Regions from separate parts of the Homo sapiens genome. Here all the other regions are linked to region 5. The links are contacts of gene promoters, found by promoter capture Hi-C in blood cells and fetal thymus (Javierre and others, 2016). All regions are on one chromosome and are shown on one strand. The core of a region is centred on a gene start or on the middle of the fragment in contact, and the rest is flanking DNA. Distances in the headings are between cores, read along the strand shown.

Evidence for each region. Contacts are between HindIII fragments. The CHiCAGO score rates a contact against its expected background, and 5 or more counts as called.
Region 1: a fragment that was not itself captured here is called in contact with the fragment with the promoter of RPSA in region 5 in 1 of 17 cell types (activated CD4 T cells); the score reaches 5.8 in activated CD4 T cells.
Region 2: a contact is called between a fragment that was not itself captured here and the fragment with the promoter of RPSA in region 5, in 1 of 17 cell types (megakaryocytes). The highest score is 5.1, in megakaryocytes.
Region 3: a contact is called between a fragment that was not itself captured here and the fragment with the promoter of RPSA in region 5, in 1 of 17 cell types (total B cells). The highest score is 7.0, in total B cells.
Region 4: a fragment that was not itself captured here is called in contact with the fragment with the promoter of RPSA in region 5 in 2 of 17 cell types (megakaryocytes and non-activated CD4 T cells); the score reaches 6.4 in megakaryocytes.

Annotation. Positions count from the first base shown.
Region 1 is chr3:38,649,037-38,652,739 of GRCh38, forward strand. It overlaps SCN5A (sodium voltage-gated channel alpha subunit 5), which reads right to left and starts at 651. Exons shown (of 28, transcript NM_000335.5): 1 at 495-651. RefSeq lists a silencer at 610-769. The HindIII fragment of the contact is 703 bases long and covers 1,807-2,509 here.
Region 2 is chr3:39,987,074-39,990,733 of GRCh38, forward strand. All of the region lies in intron 2 of MYRIP (myosin VIIA and Rab interacting protein), which reads left to right. Among named protein-coding and RNA genes, the nearest start is that of MYRIP, 180 kb to the left of the region's middle. The HindIII fragment of the contact is 2,876 bases long and covers 699-3,574 here.
Region 3 is chr3:38,489,438-38,493,195 of GRCh38, forward strand. It overlaps ACVR2B (activin A receptor type 2B), which reads left to right. Exons shown (of 11, transcript NM_001106.4): 11 at 1-3,705. Among named protein-coding and RNA genes, the nearest start is that of EXOG, 5.0 kb to the right of the region's middle. The HindIII fragment of the contact is 2,092 bases long and covers 1,144-3,235 here.
Region 4 is chr3:40,182,581-40,186,251 of GRCh38, forward strand. The region is part of intron 9 of MYRIP (myosin VIIA and Rab interacting protein); the gene reads left to right. The region is part of intron 2 of EIF1B-AS1 (EIF1B antisense RNA 1); the gene reads right to left. Among named protein-coding and RNA genes, the nearest start is that of EIF1B-AS1, 130 kb to the right of the region's middle. RefSeq lists enhancers at 2,509-2,618, 2,959-3,008. The HindIII fragment of the contact is 2,258 bases long and covers 1,246-3,503 here.
Region 5 is chr3:39,405,034-39,408,822 of GRCh38, forward strand. It overlaps RPSA (ribosomal protein SA), which reads left to right and starts at 1,687. Exons shown (of 7, transcript NM_002295.6): 1 at 1,687-1,731; 2 at 2,588-2,753; 3 at 3,573-3,691. The coding sequence starts at 2,621. It overlaps SNORA6 (small nucleolar RNA, H/ACA box 6), which reads left to right and starts at 3,358; the gene lies at 3,358-3,506. RefSeq lists enhancers at 1,408-2,199, 1,581-1,720, 3,785-3,789 and silencers at 1,891-2,070, 3,466-3,515. The HindIII fragment of the contact is 4,276 bases long and covers 1-3,608 here.

The sequences.
Region 1 (3,703 bases), core at 908-3,407, 760 kb before region 5:
GGTGCGTGGCTTCCTCCCCCATATCCAGCCCTGCTCGGTCAGCCCCCGCAAACCCCGCTCTCTGGAACCACATTCATGGCGCGCCTAGTCGCCGCTCTGACCTTGGGGTCTCCGGCCTCCGGTATCCGGGTCCCAATCCCAGACCCTCCCCGAGCCTGCGCCAGGGATGGCCGGGAAGCTGGGGCCGCAGCTCCCCCTCCCCCGGCCCTCGACAGCGCACCGGGAAACCCGGAAGGAAAGGGAAGGGAAGGGGGGCGCACGGTGTTTAGAGACGTCTCCCCCGGGGATACCCTCCAGCCGGGCGGATCTGCGCCCCTTCTCCCCCTCCGGCTCTCTGGGGCACTGATCGGGGAGGGAGCGGCTGGGCGGACCCGGGGCAGGGAGGAGCACGCAGGGACTGGAGGCTTCGGCCCTCGGGGAGGAAAGTTGGGCGGCGGCAGGCGGAGGGGGCTCCGGCCGGGCCAGGGCTGCCGGGCGCGGGGGCACTCGCTCACCTGCTGGTCCCCCGGCCGGGCCCCGGGGTGGGCGGCTGCTGCTTGGCGCGGACTCGGCTCGGCGCGGGGCTCGGGGCACTGGGCGCAGGCTCAGCGGCCCCGGGGGAGCGATCCCTGCATCCTACGGGCGCCGCCGCCGTCTCGGCTCCGCGGCTCTGTTCGGGCTCCCGGGCTGGGCAGGCGGCGCGGGCTCGGGCTGGGGGCGGGGTCGGGGGCGGGGTCGGGGCGGGCCCCGCCTGGGTTCGGCCTGGGGCTTGGGGCCCCGGGCTGGCTCCGCCCCAGAGCGACGCGCCCAGGGCTCCGCACGTGGTGCTCCGCCCGCTCGGAGGGGGGACACACCAGCGCCCGCCGGGGCGCACACTCCCACACTGACCCGGGGGCTCACAGCCACAGACAGCCGCACACGCGGCCGCGGACAGACAGACATAGGCGGGGGTACACACACGGCGACCCGGCGACGCTTCACCACAGATGGCCACCCACGCGGACGCGGACAGGCTCACATTAACAAACACTGGCATACACACCAGCACCCGCCAGAGTATACACACACACACACGCAACCTTGCTGACTTGGGAAGGCTACCAGACACCCACCCACCCACGTGGACACGGGCATACACTGACACTCATGCCGAGACAGACACACGCTGCCATAGGCATACCTGCACTGACACAGACACACACATGCACCCTGAGACAGATACACACCCCCACACACCCACACAGACACAGACAGACACATCATTGACACACACTGACACTGAGGAAGACACTCTGACAAACTTAGACACCCACATGACTTAGACACACATCCACTGACACACTGACACAGAGACACACACACTCACTCGAACCACACTTTCCTGGAGACACACTTAGTGATGCCACAGAAATCTGCACAATGGTACACATCTACCTGAACACACGGACGCACATGCTGACAGAACCAAACACACACCCAGACCCAGAAGCAAGCAGGCAACCAACACAGAGACACCCACACACGCGCGCGCGCAAACACACACACACACATACATATATATACATGTATATACCTCTTTATATATATACTTCCACCCTCTTGAGCCACATACAACCTTCACCTTGACACATGCAGAGCCTGGAGTCACATACTTACACACCCACTGTTTCTCACTCAGAGACATGGTCACAGGCACACACACACGGAGACATACGCTGACAAACAGTTGCTCCCATGCCCATGCCCAGGACCTATGGGGACACACTTCTTGTTTAAACAAAACAGGCCATCAGGGCAACCCGCTTGGGTCCCCTTCCACGCTGTGGAAGCTTTGTTCTTTCCCTCTTCACAATAAATCTTGCGCTTCTAAAAACAAAAACAAAAACAAAACAAAACAACAACAAAAAACAGGCCATCAGCTTTTGCCCACGAAAAAAGTACAGTCATTGGAAGGGATGGTACACTTTTCTGCCACATTTTCAGGGCTCCCAAAAGCAAGAACCGCTCTTAGAGAGCCAAATGGGTGCCAGGGTCTCAGAGGGCACAGAGGTGCTGGGTTTGGGAGCCCAGAGGCTGGGACCTGCTCCTCCATGATGGGGATCTTGAAGAGGTGGGAGGGCAAAGAGGGGGGTGGGGGACAGCGTCCGTTTGCGACCTGGGTGTGGGGCTTCGTTGGACGCCTTAGGTACATACGGAGGGGCTGCTCTGCTTGCAGGAGGGGATCAGTAGGAAAGTCAGTCCACAGGAAAGTTCAGGACATGGGCCTCTCCGGCCCCGAGTTGAGTGGGGTGTCTGGGGTACAGACGGATGGACCACACAGGTCGGCTGCCAGCCTTTAGCGCCTGACGAGCCTCAGGTTGGCTAGCAGCTCCCACTATCGGCCAGAAGGGGAAGTGCAGGCAGTGTCAACGTTTCAACCCACGTGCAGCCGCCTTCCCAGAGTCACACCTACCAGGCAGGAGAGTACAGTAGCAGGAAGGTCCTACCTCCCCTAAGAACTTCCATCACGGGCTTCTCGGCCTCAGAATGAAGCTTCTACTTGCAAACTGACATTGGGTCAAGCAGGAGACAAGGCTAGGATAGAAGCTGCTGGGAGTAGGGGTGGATACCTGCCTCCCTTCCGTCCATATGTAGCAGAAGTGGGGTTTTCACTCTCCTGTTTAGTATTGGGCAACTGGATGTTGCCAGCAGGAGAGGTGGGCTGAGCCTGGTAAGTCTACATGCACCCTGAATTTAAACAGGGGGAGAGAAGCCCAGGGGATGGGGAACCAGAGCTCTGAACCTGTAGAAGTTCATCCATAAAAGCACACCTTGTGGTCCTAGAGAGGCCTCAGAGTGCAGAGACAGGCAACAGGTGTCTGGAGACAGGCACTTCCTACAAAGAGCCCTTGCCAAGATCTTGGCTACTCCCTTCTCTTTGCCAGACCCTATTTAAATTTTTTGTTTTGTTTTGTTTTGTTTTGTTTGAGACGGAGTCTTGCATTGCCTCCAGGGCTGAAGTGCAGTGGCGTGATCTCGGCTCACTGCAACCTCCGCCTCCCCAGTTCAAGCAATCCTCCTGCCTCAGCCTCCTGAGTCTCTGGGATTGCAGGTGCTCGTCACCATGCCCAGCTAATTTTTTGTATTTTTAGTAGAGACGGGGTTTCACCATGTTGGCCAGGCTGGTCTCGAACTCCTGACCTCGTGATTTACCCACCTCGGCCTCCCAAAGTGCTGGGATTACAGGCGTGAGCCACCATGTCTGGCCAACCCTATTTAATTAAAGCAATAACAGGAACATGTTGTCAGCTGTCAGAGATAAATGTTTTTAAAAACTAGTATGTCCTTTATTCGCCCCTCAGTTTCGCCCAGGGTTTGCCTTTACTTTGCCTCAGGTTCAAAGCTGGGTTAACCATATCATTACTCCTCTCTTGTGTTTTTGTTTTATTTCTTCCCCCATCATCACTCCACTGCCATCTCCTTCTCCACACAGGCACCCCTCTAGGAGCTAAAGTAGGTCTTTATGTGCACATCCTTGTAAAACAGGTAGTATTGTTGTTTGTGCATATGCATTTTCTCTTCTAACAGCCCAAAGCTTTTCTTTTTATGTTTTACTTCCATTGAACCTACATAATGGAAAACTGCACAAATCCTAAGTGTTCACTTGAAAGGGTTTTCTGTTGTTGAACACATCCGTGTGAGCAGCACAACACAGAAACCAAACGTTATCAGTACCACAGAAGAC
Region 2 (3,660 bases), core at 887-3,386, 580 kb after region 5:
TGGTTTGCTGCACCTATCAACCCATCATCTAGGTTTTAAGCCCTGCATGCATTCGTTATTTGTCCTAATGCTCTCCCTCCCTTTGCCCTCTACCCCACGACTGGCCCCAGTATGTGTCATTTCTCCCCCTGTGTCCATGTGTTCTCATTATTCAGTTCCCACTTGTGAGCGAGATCATGTGGTGTTTGGTTTTCTCTTCCTGTGTTAGTTTGCTGAGGATGATGGCTTTCAGCTTCATCCATGTCCCTGCAAACGACGTGATGTCATTCCTTTTTATGGCTTCATAGTATTCCATGGTGTATATGTACCACACTTTCTTTATCCAGTTTATCATTGATGGGCATTTGGGTTGGCTCTATGTCTTTGCTATAGTAAATAGTGCTGCAATAAACATGTTTGCCTGTGTCTTTATAATAGAATGATTTGTATTCCTTTGGTTATATACCCAGTAATGAGATTGCTGGGTCAAATGGTATGTCTGGTTCTAGATCCTTGAGGAATTGCCACACTATCTTTGGCAATGGTTGAACTAATTTACATTCCCACCAACGGTGTAAAAGCATTCCTATTTATCCACAGCCTTGCCAGCATCTATTGTTTCTTGACTTGTTAATAATTGCCATTCTGACTGGCATGGTTTTGATTTGCATTTCTTTGATGATCAGTGATGTTGGACTTTATTTCTCCTTTGCTTATGAAGCTTAGTTTTTCTGGATATGAAATTATGGGTTGAAAATTTTTTTCTTTAAGAATGTTCAATCATGCTGCTATAAAGACACATGCACACGTATGTTTATTGTGGCACTATTCACAATAGCAAAGACTTGGAACCAAGCCAAATGTCCAACAATGATAGACTGGATTAAGAAAATGTGGCACATATACACCATGGAATACTATGTGGCCATAAAAGATGATGAGTTCATGTCCTTTTTAGGGACATGGATGAAATTGGAAATCATCATTCTCAGTAAACTATTGCAAGAACAAAAAACCAAACACCGCATATTCTGACTCATAGGTGGGAATTGAACAATGAGAACACATGGACACAGGAAGGGGAACATCACACTCTGGGGACTGTTGTGGGGTGGGGGAAGGGGGAAAGGATAGCATTAGGAGATATACCTAATGCTAAATGACGAGTTAATGGGTGCAGCACACCAGCATGGCACATGTATACATATGTAACTAACCTGCACATTGTGCACATGTACCCTAAAACTTAAAGTATAATGATAAAAAAAAAAAGATTGTTGAATATTGGCCCCCACTCTCTTCTGGCTTGTGGTGTTTCTGTTGAGAGGTCTGCTGATAGTTTGATGGGCTTCCCTTTGTAGGTGACCTGGTCTTTCTCTCTGGCTACGCTTACCACTTTTTCCTTCATTTTGACCTTGGAGAATCTGATGATTATTTGGGGTTGGTCTTCTCATGGAATATCTTAGTGGTGTTCTCTGTATTTCCTGAATTTGAATGTTGCCCTGTCTTGCTAGGTTGGGGAAGTTCTCCTGGATAATATTCTCAAGTGTGTTTTCCAGCTCGGTTCCATTCTCTCTGTCTCTTTCAGGTACTCCAATCAATTGTAGGTTTGGTCTTTTTGCATAGTCCCATATTTCTCGGAGGTTTTGCTCATTCCTTTTCATTTCTTTTTTCTCTAATCTTGTCTGCATGCCTTATTTCAGCAAGATGGTCTTCAAATGCTGATATCCTTTCTTCTGCTTGGTTGATTTGGCTATTGATACTTGTGTATGCGTCATGAAGTTCTTGTGCTGTGTTTTTCAGCTCTATCAGGTCATTTATGTTCCTGTCTAAACTGGTTATTCTATTTAGCAGCTCCTGTAGCCCTCTATCAAGGGTTTTGGCTTCTTTGCATTGGGTTAGAACATGCTCGGTTAGCTCAGCGGAGTTTGTTATTACCCCCCTTCTGAAGCCTATTTCTGTCAATTTGTCCATCTCATCTTCCATCCAGTTCTGCATCCTTGCTGGAGAGGCATTGTGATCATTTGGAGGAGAAGAGGCACTCTGGCCTTTTAGATTTTCAGCGTTTTTTTCGTTGATTCTTTCTCATCTTCATGAGTTTGTCTAATATTGATCTTTGTGGCTGCTGACCTTTGGGTGGGGATTTTGTGGGGACTTTTTATTGTTGATGCTATTGTTGTTGTTGCATTGTTGTTGCTTTCTGTTTGTTTTTCTTGCAGTTATCAGGTCCCTCTTCTGTAGGGCTGCTGTGGTTTGCTGGGGGTTCGCTTCAGGCCCTATTCATCTGGTTCATTCCCATGCCTGGAGATGTCACACAAGGAGCCTGGAAAACAGCAAAGATGGGTGCCTGCTCCTTCCTCTGGGATCTCTGACCTAACTGATGCCAGTAGGAACGCTCTTGTATAGCATGTCTGACAACCCCTGTTGGAAGATCTCACCTAGTTAGGTGGCAAGGGGAGCAGAACGCATTTAACAAAGCACTTTGTCCCTTGGTGGATTGGGCGTGCTTCACTGGGGGGAAACCCACACATCTGGGCTGCCTGAATTCTTCAGAACTAGCAGGAGGAAAGAATAAGTCTACTGGTCTGCAGAGACTGCAGCCACCCCTCCCGCTAGGGCTCAGGCCCAGGGAGATCAGAGTTCTGTCCTTGAGTCCCTGGCTGAAGTTGTTGGAGTTCCTGTAGGGAGGCCCTGCCTTGATGGGTCAAGGTCAGGCCTGAAGAGGCACTCTGTCCGCAATCTGCCACAGCCATTGTGTTGGACTGTGGGGGATACCTCTTGGGACCAAGCTGTCCAGCCTCCCCAGCTCCAGCAGGGGAAAAGCCTGGCCTGGAGCTATAGAGATGGCTGCTGCCCTTCACCTGCCCTTAGAGCTTAGTTTGTTAGGCAGCTATCAGTCCCAGTGTTGGCTGTCACCCGTCCCCCAAGGAGTCCAAACGGCTTAGACAGCAGGCAACTGCAGCTGTGGTGCTGATCACCCTCCCCCAGGAGCTCAGCAGCCTTAAGCAGATTCTAGCTTAGTGCCTGTTGAGAATCTGTATGGCTTCATTGTTGGGACCCTAGACCCCAGTGGAATGGACTCATGAGTTGGATCTTCCAAACCATGGGTTGCACAGTTCCATGGAAAAAGGACATTTTCCAGGCTGGGTAGTATGCTCATTCACTGACTCCCTTGGCTGGGGGGAGTGGACTCCTCTGCCCTGTGTAGCCACCACACCACACTACTCTTCCTTCTTCTCTGTGGATCACAGCAGCCACCTAGTCATTTCCGATGTTGGAATCTGGATACCTCAGTTGCTGGTGCAGGATTCGCATGCTGTTATGGTTCTTTTCAAGGGGAGCCTCTGATTGCCACTGCTTCTAGTCAGCCATCTTGACCCCACCCCTGTTCTGCTCTTTGAGTCTGTGTTTTCTTATCTGAACAATAAAGATAGCTCACTGCTCATAGAATTATTTTGAGGCTTGAGTGAAATAATGTCTATTAGGTATCTGGAAAAGTTTAAAAATCAGACATTCAAGGGCTGATACTAATTGTTGTTACATTAGGCCACAGCCCATGACTAAAGAAGTGTTGAAAAACTGAAATCCTATTGAAAGCTTTTCACAGTGTCTTGTTATTCATTCTGATTGTTCTGGTCATCGTGGCCCAAGAGAGGATACATTCCCTTTGCCAAGTAAACA
Region 3 (3,758 bases), core at 940-3,439, 920 kb before region 5:
TAGTGTTTATATGGATTCTTGTGATACACTGGCAGACTGGAGTCAATTTGCGGGTCTTTTTTGGCCAAAACTCCACTTGTGGTTGTGTAGGACAGTGATATTCAGCTCAGCTTCTTGTGGATTGGGAGGAGAGAGGGCCTGCAATGTGTTTTACATTGGTGCTTCCTCCTGAGATTTCTGTTGAACAAAGGGTTCTGAGGTCAAAAATTAGTTTGTAAGCCTTTGCCATAGGACATAGTCATGTGAGAGTGTTTGGGGGAACAGAAATTGTATAGGGGTGCCTATTGGGGTGGGATGGGACTCGAATAAGATTCAGGTACAAAAACTTTGAAATGAGAATCTGGTGGTTTGAGTAATCCACCAGACTGAATTATCTAAGATCACATTATCCAGGTTGGGGGGCAGAATTACCCAGTTAAGTAATTGTTCAGAAAAGTGGGGAGGGTGGCATGTGGATGCAGTGATCCAATTAAATGGAGAGCTGCCAGGCACATTTTGTCCTCTCTGGTCAGTGAGAATGGTTGGGTTGGCTCGCTGCTTCAATCTGTGGAATCAGCCAGGAGCCCAGTGAGGAAGCTCAGAACCCCAGTAACAGCAGAGCATCTTTCAGATAGCTCCAGAGTTTTCCTGCTTTTCTGAGGAAGCTCAGCATCACTGCCACAATACGGAAAGTGGTCTTCATTTTAGCCTATTTATTTTTAGGCAGAGAGTGGATGGTTATTTGTGTGGGACTTTTGGTGGCGATATATAATGAATAATTAAGTTAATTTCTGGTATGCATAATGGCCAGTCCTGAGGCCCAGCTGAAGACCTGTCCCCCAGACCCTGCCCGCTGGCTTCAGGCTGCTGCTTCTAGACAGAGGTGCACTGGACGGGATAGTTTTATCAAGAGAATCCCTAATGTGTCATTTTAAACCAGCTGTGCTTTTTATTCATTCTGGTTGAGCGTATAGGTTTACACTTTACCCTTTTTATACTTGGAATAAATTTAGTTCCAGCAGATCTAGTAGCACTCCAGAAACCAACCCCATCTGTTCCCCATAAAAAGAACATTTTCTCTGCTCTCCAGCCACGTGTCTTGGAATGTAATTCTGTTGTGCCTTTGTTTTTATCACTCTCTTCGCCCCAAAAGCAACTGCTGTAAGCTTTTTTCTACTTGTCTTTTCTAGTCCCCAACCTCTACCTTTTTCCTTTTTCCCAGCCCTAATTTCTGGATGCACTTCTGTGATCCAGGTATTTTAAGAACCAGTTACCTCAGACCTCATGTTGAACAGTGTCGCCATCTGGGTCCTCTTGATACTGCAGACTTTTAACGTACACATGCAGGAACCCTGCTGAGCGTGGGCACTTGTTTTAAAGCAAAACTCTTCCCAAGGACTGAAGAAAGGGCTTCTGGCAAGCTCGTCATGGCATTGTGGTGGGATGGGTCTAGAGTGTCATCTGAATGGTGCTTCCTGTGTTCCTCTTTGAATTCTGCCATTTTCAGTATTCTTGTGTGTCTGAATAGGCAAAGCGATTTAATTGGCTGGTCTTGCACGCAAATTAGTTCCAAAGATAAGCTCTTTGTAACACATTTCCAGTCGCTAATGCTCAAATGTAGAACATTCCTTTAAATGGCAGGATAAAAAACCCACTATCCACCATAGTGCATTTTGGGAAGATGTCTGTAGCATATGTTGCTGTGAAATTAGGCCTTGTGGGATATGGCTGTTTGTCATTTTGATGTATTTTAAATAAATATATATATTTTTTAAAGAGCCTTTTTTACCAGTTCAAAAAGTTTAATTAACCAGCAGTCACCGCATCTGAATTTTTGTCTCTGGGGCATAGATGGCAGACCAAGATTAAAAGTGGTAACTCAGCTATACGAGCATGGGCTACCTTCCTGGGCTCTCCTGCAGTCCTGTAGACCTGCTGTTCCGCAGACCATGGGACACAAGGTCAGTGTGTTCCCAGTGAGGGTCCCAAGTCAGTCATCTTAAGTGTTTGTTCTCTGCCCCATTCAGTGGACTGTTGACTTCAGTCCCTGCAAGTGCTTTAGCCCGAGTGGGGTTTTCTCAGAGCACTGCCACGAGTTAAGTGTGTGTTTAGCCAAATAATTTCTCCGTAAGGGAAAAATGCAGTCACCCAAATTTTACCAACAATGACAGAGATGAGAGTAGAAAAGATTAGGCAACATCTGAGTTTTAACTTGAAAAGTGTCCAAGTCATCATGAAAGGCCGACTGGGAGCAAGTGATTATTAGAGATTCTTCAGGAGACCTCATCTGAAAATGTTAAGACTGCCAGTGAGGGAAGGAATTGTTAAAATGCCAGCGGCTTTTTTTTCCTCTTTTTTTCTGTAATTCTGTAAAAATGCAGAGAAAGTTGAGTGGTACTTCAGAATTGAGGGAGAGGGTTACCGCAGAGTAGAAATATATTTCTAGATTTCAGTTCCACACCACAAATCCACAACAATGCCATTTTTCAACTGTACAAAAATCTGCTTATGAACTGGACATGATCTTAATGGTAGTGTCAAAGGCCAAGTTTTTCACCTGTTAATATTTTTCCACATTTGTCCTTGAATCTGAATAACTTTATACAGTACTGTAAATTTAACTTACATCGAGTTTGTTGTCAATTCTTATGAAAAGAGCTTTCTGCATGTAACACATACGGTTAAAGAACACAGCAAAGGACAAAATTTGCAGGAACAGTTTTGGAACCAACAGAAAATGTCACCTTTTATTTGCCATCTTATATATATCTATCAGTTTTACCAGCTACTTCTAAATTTGTACATTATTTGTAAGGGAAAGAAGGAAAACCCTAAGACTTGTCTAACTTAGTGGAGAATGTGTGTGTTGGGCTTAGGATGGATAGCTAAGTCTTATTGAGCTGTGTTACCTAACTTGTATATAAAAATTGTAATTAAAAGTTTGGGTTCACCTGTTTCTCACAGTTTAAAATGATGAGTAATTGCAAACTCTGGAAATGTGACTAGTATATGATTTAAGGCTGTAGAAGCAAGGAAGCTCTTTCAAGTGCTAAAACTAAAGACTTCTAGTTTTTGGCTCAAATAAGTACTGTTTGTATACCAGGATATGTGAGATGTAAATGTAGTAGGTCACTTTTCACCCTTGTAGCTATAAAATAAAAATTTTGTAGAACAGAAATAGCTTGTACTACTGAATTAACAAAAGTTATACTAAAGTATCATGTTTAAAAAAAATATATATATATATACAGAGTTAAGCTTGTTGCTGTTACCCTGTCTGGATTTGAAAAGTGTGCTGATTTATATATATATATTACACACACACACACACACACACACACACACACACACACACACACACACACACACACACACACACACACACACATACACCTAAAATGGCCTAAAGCAGACATCCATGTAATTACAGTTGCAAAATGAAAACATTTTGGAAAGAACATTGTATCATAGTTCATTCATTTGCAGTGGATCTTTGTTCCTTTTTACTGTGGTAATTTTAGAAATGAGTGTCAAGTTTGAAATTAGATCTGCTAAGTTGGGGTTTTGCTGCTTGAACTCTGCACTGGGTCCTCAAATAAACCGATGTGAATGTAGTTTTTTCCCCCTGTGTGAAGAAGCAGTTACACCCCAACAATAGGAGGAAAAATCTAGAACTATTTCAAGTTTTATCTTTTTGTATATGAAAATAAAATAATAATAAAACAATCTTGTCTTTCTTAATTACGTGGCAGGGGATTGGAGTTTCCTTTCATGAGGAT
Region 4 (3,671 bases), core at 1,125-3,624, 780 kb after region 5:
CTCTGGCAGAATGAAGGCTCTTAGGGTGTCATCATATTCTATGCTCTGTGCTGAGACCTGTGGGACAGATTGGGGGCTCCTGGACAAGTGTGTTCACATCACTCCACTGCACACCCCACTTCAGCTGCCTGTTCTATGTGGACTAGGAGAATGTGTCTTATGTGGGCCAGGAGCATTAAACCAACCTCTCATGGCATTTCAACTTTCAAAGGGATTTGGGTCCCAGCAAATTTGGGTCCTTAGGGCTGGTTTTAAGGATGTCCTTTCTGAAACTGGATAAATTAGTTAGGGTAGCATATGCCACTATAACAAGTAAACTGAATATCTAAGCGGCTTAATACAATCATTTTCTTTTTCATCACACAACAGTGCAGTACAAGTACCCCTGGCCTGTGGGAAGCCTTCAGAGGCCAAAGTACAAGGTTCCCACCTTGTGGCTCTATCATCCTCCAGGGCCTCTGAGTCTTTTATGGGCTTATCCATATTCAGACAGCAGATGGAGGAAGGCAGCATGGAAAAGGCAGGTACCTGCTTCTTAACTATCTCAGCACGGAGAGCTCACGCCACTTTCACTCCCAACCTGTGGACAGGAACTGGTCACGTGGCCCCACCTCAATGCAGGCCCGGAGAAATGGCATCCTGGCTGGGCAGATGCATACCAGTAACACGGCTGGGCCATGAAAGAGTCTTTGGTGGGCAGTTGTCTATCCCTGCCTGAGGGACATCCTGAGGAAGGCATTGATGTTTGCTTGCACCTCTGCTCTTCCTGATTCCTCCCCCTAGAATGTCCTGCCTCTACATGGGGCAAGTCAGCTTGCCTCTTTAGAGACTCTTCAACATGTATGGAATGTGGTCCTTTATAAAGCTGTTGAGTCACGTAATCCCTCAAAATGAAGGGGCTCAAATGAACTGAGTCATTTTCCTAAAGTCTCACATCAGAAGACTGTAAGTTGCTTGGACCCATCACTGTGGGTGACGGCCGAGGGCCATGAAGCCCCTGTGCTCAGGGGGCCTCCTGGTCTACATGAATGTCAGACTAAAACTTCCCCCAACCCCTGCACAGGTCTACTCCTCTCTTCCTATTTCCTGCATACACACACTGTGTCAGGAGGCCAGGCATATTTGTCTTCACATGAAGAAAGCATTAACAGTATTCTCATCCCATGTCGTATCAGATTTAGACCCCTTTCCTGAATAATGAAAACAACAAAAAAGATTAACAGCAGCATAGCCATCCTAGTAATAAGCTTTTAAAGATTGTGCTATTATTTCTACTCTAAAAGGGAAAAGATTTAACCAACAACTATAGAAACAAAATCCATTGTTACGACAGTGCAAAGAATCAGAAAACATTAAATATTTTTAACTGTCATTCTAAAGATTTACCAAAAGAGATTATTTTTATATTAACCTTTTAGTACCTATTAGTAGAAACTGCAGTGCCATGACATTGCAGAAATTCTGCAGCATGTGATCGTTTCTTTACTTATGTATATGGTGTTTGCTTTTGCTTTTTAAGTGCATTTTTCTTTTCTAGATATGCCTTTCTTTCCTCCCTCTGCCCTCCCAGTCTATTCATATTCATTCATTCATATTCTCGCTCTCTCTCTTCTTCCTCATTTTCTCACTTCTCTCTCTTTCTCTATGGATTGCAAATGCACACAGAAAATGGACTGTTAGATTCCATAGAGTACATGAGAATACCACATAATAGAACTTCAATACACAATATCTAGCTTTCTAAAATCACTTTAAAACATACAGAGTCACTTAAAGTATAATAAAAAAAATACAGAGTCCATATGTAGGCACTATTTTATTTTTTCCTCCAACAGCATTACCAGACACTGTCATTATTTTGTTTTGCAGATAAGAACATTGATGGACAGGGAAGTTAAGTGACTTGTTCAAGACCCCACAGCCAATGTAGGCAGAGCTGGTCCTCAAATCCAAACAGCATGACTCCAATTTGCAGGTTTTCAACTACTGCATTATAAGTGTCTCTCTACCATAAAAACAAACAAACAAAAAACAAACAAAAATTCAGACTTGCAAAGTGATAAATGTGTAGGATATTATAAAAACAACTACAAGATGCTCTATTTCACAAAATAGTTTCCAACTGGATTATGAGCATTCATAATAAATTTGCAAAGGAATTTTGTTTTCAAAACATGATTTTGTACATAATTTTCTGTAAAATTAGGCACCCATAGGTAATTTTTCAATTGTATATAAACATAAAACTTAGTTCCACAGCATCACACACCCAAAAAAAGATTTCACATTCTGCTCAAAACTCTATGCATCTCTCAGGATAAAGATTTAAAATTTTTTAAAAAGGACTTGGGTGGAAAACTTCTGGTTTTCTGAGGAATTTTTAGCCCTTGACATGCTAAACTGTCCATGCCAGCCTCAGAGGTCTTGAGGGATGTCTGAAATGTTTAGCAGGAAGCAAATTATTCCTACAGGCATTGCTCAATCTCAGTTGGGCAGAAACATCAAATAGAAGCGTTCCGAAGGTGGAGGTCATCTTAGAAAGTGAATGCCCACTGGGCTATATTTGGCAGTTGTGTTTATGCCTCAGGAGAAGGGTTGATTCAGGAGCCTGTTCGTGCACAGTTGGGGTCAGTCTTAGGGGCACTGCGGTTTGGGTAAACCACAGTAACTCCGCTTTCAGTCTTGACGCTGCTTATAGCAGTTAATGGGTTTCCCCCAAATGCATTTTCACTTTATAAACCTTGATTAGGCATCTGCTGTATATGCTGCGTGTGTTCAGTGTTGGGGAAATAAAGATCGGGGAATTGTCACTGCTCTGGGATCACTCAGTGAGAGTTAGTTGTCTGCACAATAATGGAAGAGCAGGAATTTGGAGAAAGAGGAAGAGGGAGCAGGATCCCCGAGGGGTGTTCCTGATGGACCGGGAGACTGTGGTATTGGAGCACAGGTGCAGCTTTGATAATGCTGCTCAACAACCACCAAAGTTTTCACATGTCTGGGTATTCAGGGAGCCATCTGTGTTTTTGCTAAGAAGTAAAAGTTTGCTGAGGGAAAATTTGGTCAACTTCTAGCTTCCAAAGAGGCATGAGGCAACCTAGGGTTGTAAAAAAGCAGGAGAAGGAGAGCTGGCAATGGGTCAAATGCCACCTCACCATGTAGGGGACCACATTTATAACATGGTCAACCCTAGAGCCAGCCCTGAGTGGCATTATCAAGGGTCGCCTCCTTTGGATTCCTCCCAGGGCCCCAGGAGAAGCTGTAGACAGCAGGGCTCATTGAGAGCTGCTCAATGAGCCCCGTCGCCCCTATAGCCTTTGGTGCCTGTATTCATTAACAAGTAGTATTCATGTGCCCAGGATGAGACGCAAAGTTGGCCAGGGGCTTGGGGCATAGCAGTGAAGAAGACGTGGCTCTGCCCTCAAGGAGCCCATGATCAGGATTGAGGGGTAGGGTAGACAACCAAGAAAATAAACTATAATATAGTTTGAGTGTTAAGAAATGAAAGCTTTTTGGCAAAGCTCAGAGAACAGAATAGCCAGCGTCTCAAGGAAGGAAGGCCAAGCATATGCAATTGAGGAGTGATGTATAAGTCAAGTCTTGAAAGATGGTCCAGAGAGCAGCCTCAGTGACAGATTAGAAGGCCCAGAGGACTTTTCCTTTCTTCTCAGAGT
Region 5 (3,789 bases), core at 437-2,936:
CATTGTTTTGGGACTCAGGGGCCTCTGAGGAGGCTTGTGGCCTGAGTTTCTGCCAACAAACTGAATGCCTCCTCTTCCCATAACAAAGCGTAGAAGCGGGAGGCATTTGCATTTGCCGCAAGGGGCTGTGACTTCTCTGAATTTGTCCCTCAAGCCCCAGGTGCTTCAGCCTTGGTGGGTGATGAAGCAGAGCAGCCTGGGGGTGACCTGTGCTAGGGTCCAAGGGTTTCCAAGCTCCTCAGAAAATCATACTGGCTTCAGTGGAGCTGCAGAGCCACTTGCAGGAGAACCTGGATGTGCTGTCCTTTGGAAGAGTGGCCATAAGGGTCTACGAGTTCATTTTAGGGTGGGCTCAGAAATCAGATTGACTCAGCAGGCCCCAGAGAGGAACCTGCACTTTTTTTTTTTTTGACGGAGTCTTACTCTGTCGCCCAGGCTGGAGTGCAAGTGGCGCAATCTCCACTCACTACAACCTCTGCCTCCTGGGTTCAAGCAATTCTCCCGCCTCAGCCTCCCCAGTAGCTGGGATTACAGGCATGCCTGGCTAATTTTTGAATTTTTAGTAGATACCGGGTTTCGCCATGTTGGCCAGGCTGGTCTCTTGAACTCCTGGCCTCAAGGGATCCGCCCGCGTCAGCCTCCGAAAGTGCTGGGATTACAGCCACCGCGCCCCTTCAATTAACTCCTATTTTTTTGTTTGTTTTTTGGAGACAGAATTTCGCTCTATTGCCCAGGCTGGAGTGCAGCGGTGCAATCACATTCACTGCAGACTTGACCTCTAGGCTCAAGCTATCCTCCTGCCTCAGCCTCCTGAGTAGCTGAGACTACAGGGACGCACCATCATGATTGGTTAATTTTTGTATTTTTTGTGGAGATGGGGGTCTCCCCATGTTTCCCAGGCTAGTCTTGAACTTCTGAGCTCAGGCAATCCACCCACCTCGGCCTCCCAAAGTGCTGGGATTACAGGCACAAGCCACCGCGCCCGGCAAACTTATCTCCTACTGATGGATATTGCAAAATTTTTCTTCTACCAAAAAAAAAAAAAAAAAAAAGATAGATATAATCCATACCATCTGTTCAATCTTGTCCTTTTTAACTTTTTCAGGGAAACTTCCCCCAGGTGATAGATGGATAGATACATGAGATAGACATAACGCATACGATCAGTTCAATCTTATCTTTTTTAACTTTTTCAGAGAAAACTTCCCTTAAGTGAACATTTAAATCTGAATTACGTCCTGTTAAACTGTTCTCCAGGAAAATAAAATAAAATAAATCTTCAAGTTTTTGTTTACCTAACAATTTGTTGTGTCGAACAAACCTTCCTACTTTTCAGGTAACAAAATGGCAGCTTAGGCTAGAAAGCCGCTCATATTCGCAGGTACAAGGGCTGGGTAAGAACGCCCCGCCTGGCTGACTAACTTGAGTTCCGCGCTCTGGACAGGAATTATGCACAGGGCGTCGCTGTGGCACTAGAAACCCCAAAGTCACAAGCGCCCCAGATCCGACCAGGATGCCGCTACCGGCTACAGCCCAGAGGCCCGCTCCTGCGGCGCAAGCCCGCCTTCCTGAAGAAAAAGCCCAGTCCCGGCAGCGTTCTTCTCCGGCTCCGCCCTTCTTCCGCTCGACTTTCTTTGCCATTGGCTGACAACGGAGTACATAAGGACGTCATTTCCTGCCGCCTGTCTTTTCCGTGCTACCTGCAGAGGGGTCCATACGGCGTTGTTCTGGGTGAGTTCCGTGTAGCGTCCCTGGCGCCTTCCAGGGCTAGAAAAATGAGCTTTTCCTGCTCAAATGAAGGGTGAGAAGACTAGTGATGAAAGCCGGTCAGACTGGATCTGTCTCCCGCCCGGCGCGCCCCACCTTAGGCCTGCGGCCCGCACGTGGCCAGGCTCGGGCTGGCGGGTTCCCAGAGTGCCCCGGGAGCGGGTGGAGGCCGCCCTCCAGCGGAGGCTCCGAGCTGGGGTTCGGACCAGGCCGCGGGTGGGCGGGAGTGCAGAAAGCGGGCTAACATCCTGTGTTGCTATCCCTTCGGAGTCCCACACGGCGGTGAGTCTAGGCCCAGGCGCTGATTTACACCAGCTACTTGGGCTGGTCGGGTTTTCCCTTCGCGCCGTGCGGGTCAGGAGTTAAGGTTCTCGGGTTTTTAGACAAACAAGTGGTGACAGCACAGCGAAGTAATTCCAAAGCATCCGCCTACAATCTGCTTGAAAATGTCTGAAAACAATTCATGCCTTTTTTGCCTTTAGTTTGCATATTCCAAACATGGCTGCTCTTTTGTATCTAGTTGTTAACTTGGCGCATCCACAACTTTTCCTTAATTCCTATCTTGAGAAGTGTTGAATTTCCATTCGCTAATTTCGTGTAGTTTTATTACTCGGTTACTCTGCCGTCCACACTATTTCCTCAGTAAGATGTGCGCTGTTCCGTAATACACGACATGTATGGGTTAACTTTCTGTTTACCCTTCACTACACTGTAAGCTCAATGCCTGACACTATAGCAGATGGAGTTTTTGGTTGCTTTTAAGGGTGTGCCCTACTTAACTCAATGGAATGAAAAGAAATAGGTTGCTCTCTTATTTCAGATTCCCGTCGTAACTTAAAGGGAAATTTTCACAATGTCCGGAGCCCTTGATGTCCTGCAAATGAAGGAGGAGGATGTCCTTAAGTTCCTTGCAGCAGGAACCCACTTAGGTGGCACCAATCTTGACTTCCAGATGGAACAGTACATCTATAAAAGGAAAAGTGATGGTTAGTCATTGCTTTAATTTTTTGTTACTCCAGCTGTAAGTACAAATTTTGAGCTTGCTATTCTCGTGGTTAGTTCTGGGTAATTTCTTTCTATCTTCCTTAAATGAAGCCAGACCCCTACGTTGAAAACATACTTTAAATAAATGTTCTTGTTATTGAGAGAAAAGATTTCTGCTCCAGGGGAGGAATATGTCAGTTGTCTGAGTTACGGGACTTGGGTTGGGTCATGAACATGAGAAAGTTCATTGGCTGAGTTTCTAATAGCTCGCATAGTGCCTTCAACTTCATAGGTACTTACACAGGCTATTGAACTGAATTTTGAGTGGAAAGTGGGGTAAGAGGTGGGAATGAACAATATGGTTTGGAAGAACCAGAGGATGGAAGGCATTAAGTTGGCTAAGGCACTTACTTATTTTAGAGATAAAGCTACCAAGGACTTGGGAGTGACATGCTGTAAAGGAGTTTTAGGATGAATCTTGCATCAGTGCAGATTATAAAAGGGAAAGAGTGGCAGAAAGCCAGGAAGTGGATTATTAAGAACCAATGATGGAATAAGTACAGGGAAAGAGAAAGGAAAGATGGATTTAGCCAACTGAATCTAGGCTGCACACTATTAAAGCTCAGGGTGGAGGCCAGTCTTGGCTCATGAACTTCTGAGTGTCGGAAGTGTGCTATATCAATGGCAGGATTTTCGCTAACACCAGTAGAGCTTGCCTCTATGACTGGAGTTTGGTAGTACTCGCTGCCACATAGAGTAAACTTGAGAAGAATGTTTGCACAGCCAGGTCAAGTGTTACAAATCCTTCTGCCCTCACTTAGGCATCTATATCATAAATCTCAAGAGGACCTGGGAGAAGCTTCTGCTGGCAGCTCGTGCAATTGTTGCCATTGAAAACCCTGCTGATGTCAGTGTTATATCCTCCAGGAATACTGGCCAGGTTTGTGGAACAGTGGTTAGTTTTTATATTATAGAAATAAAGCTTACAGACATTGTGAGACATAGAAAGACATAAGAAAACAGAAATAACTCAGGCCG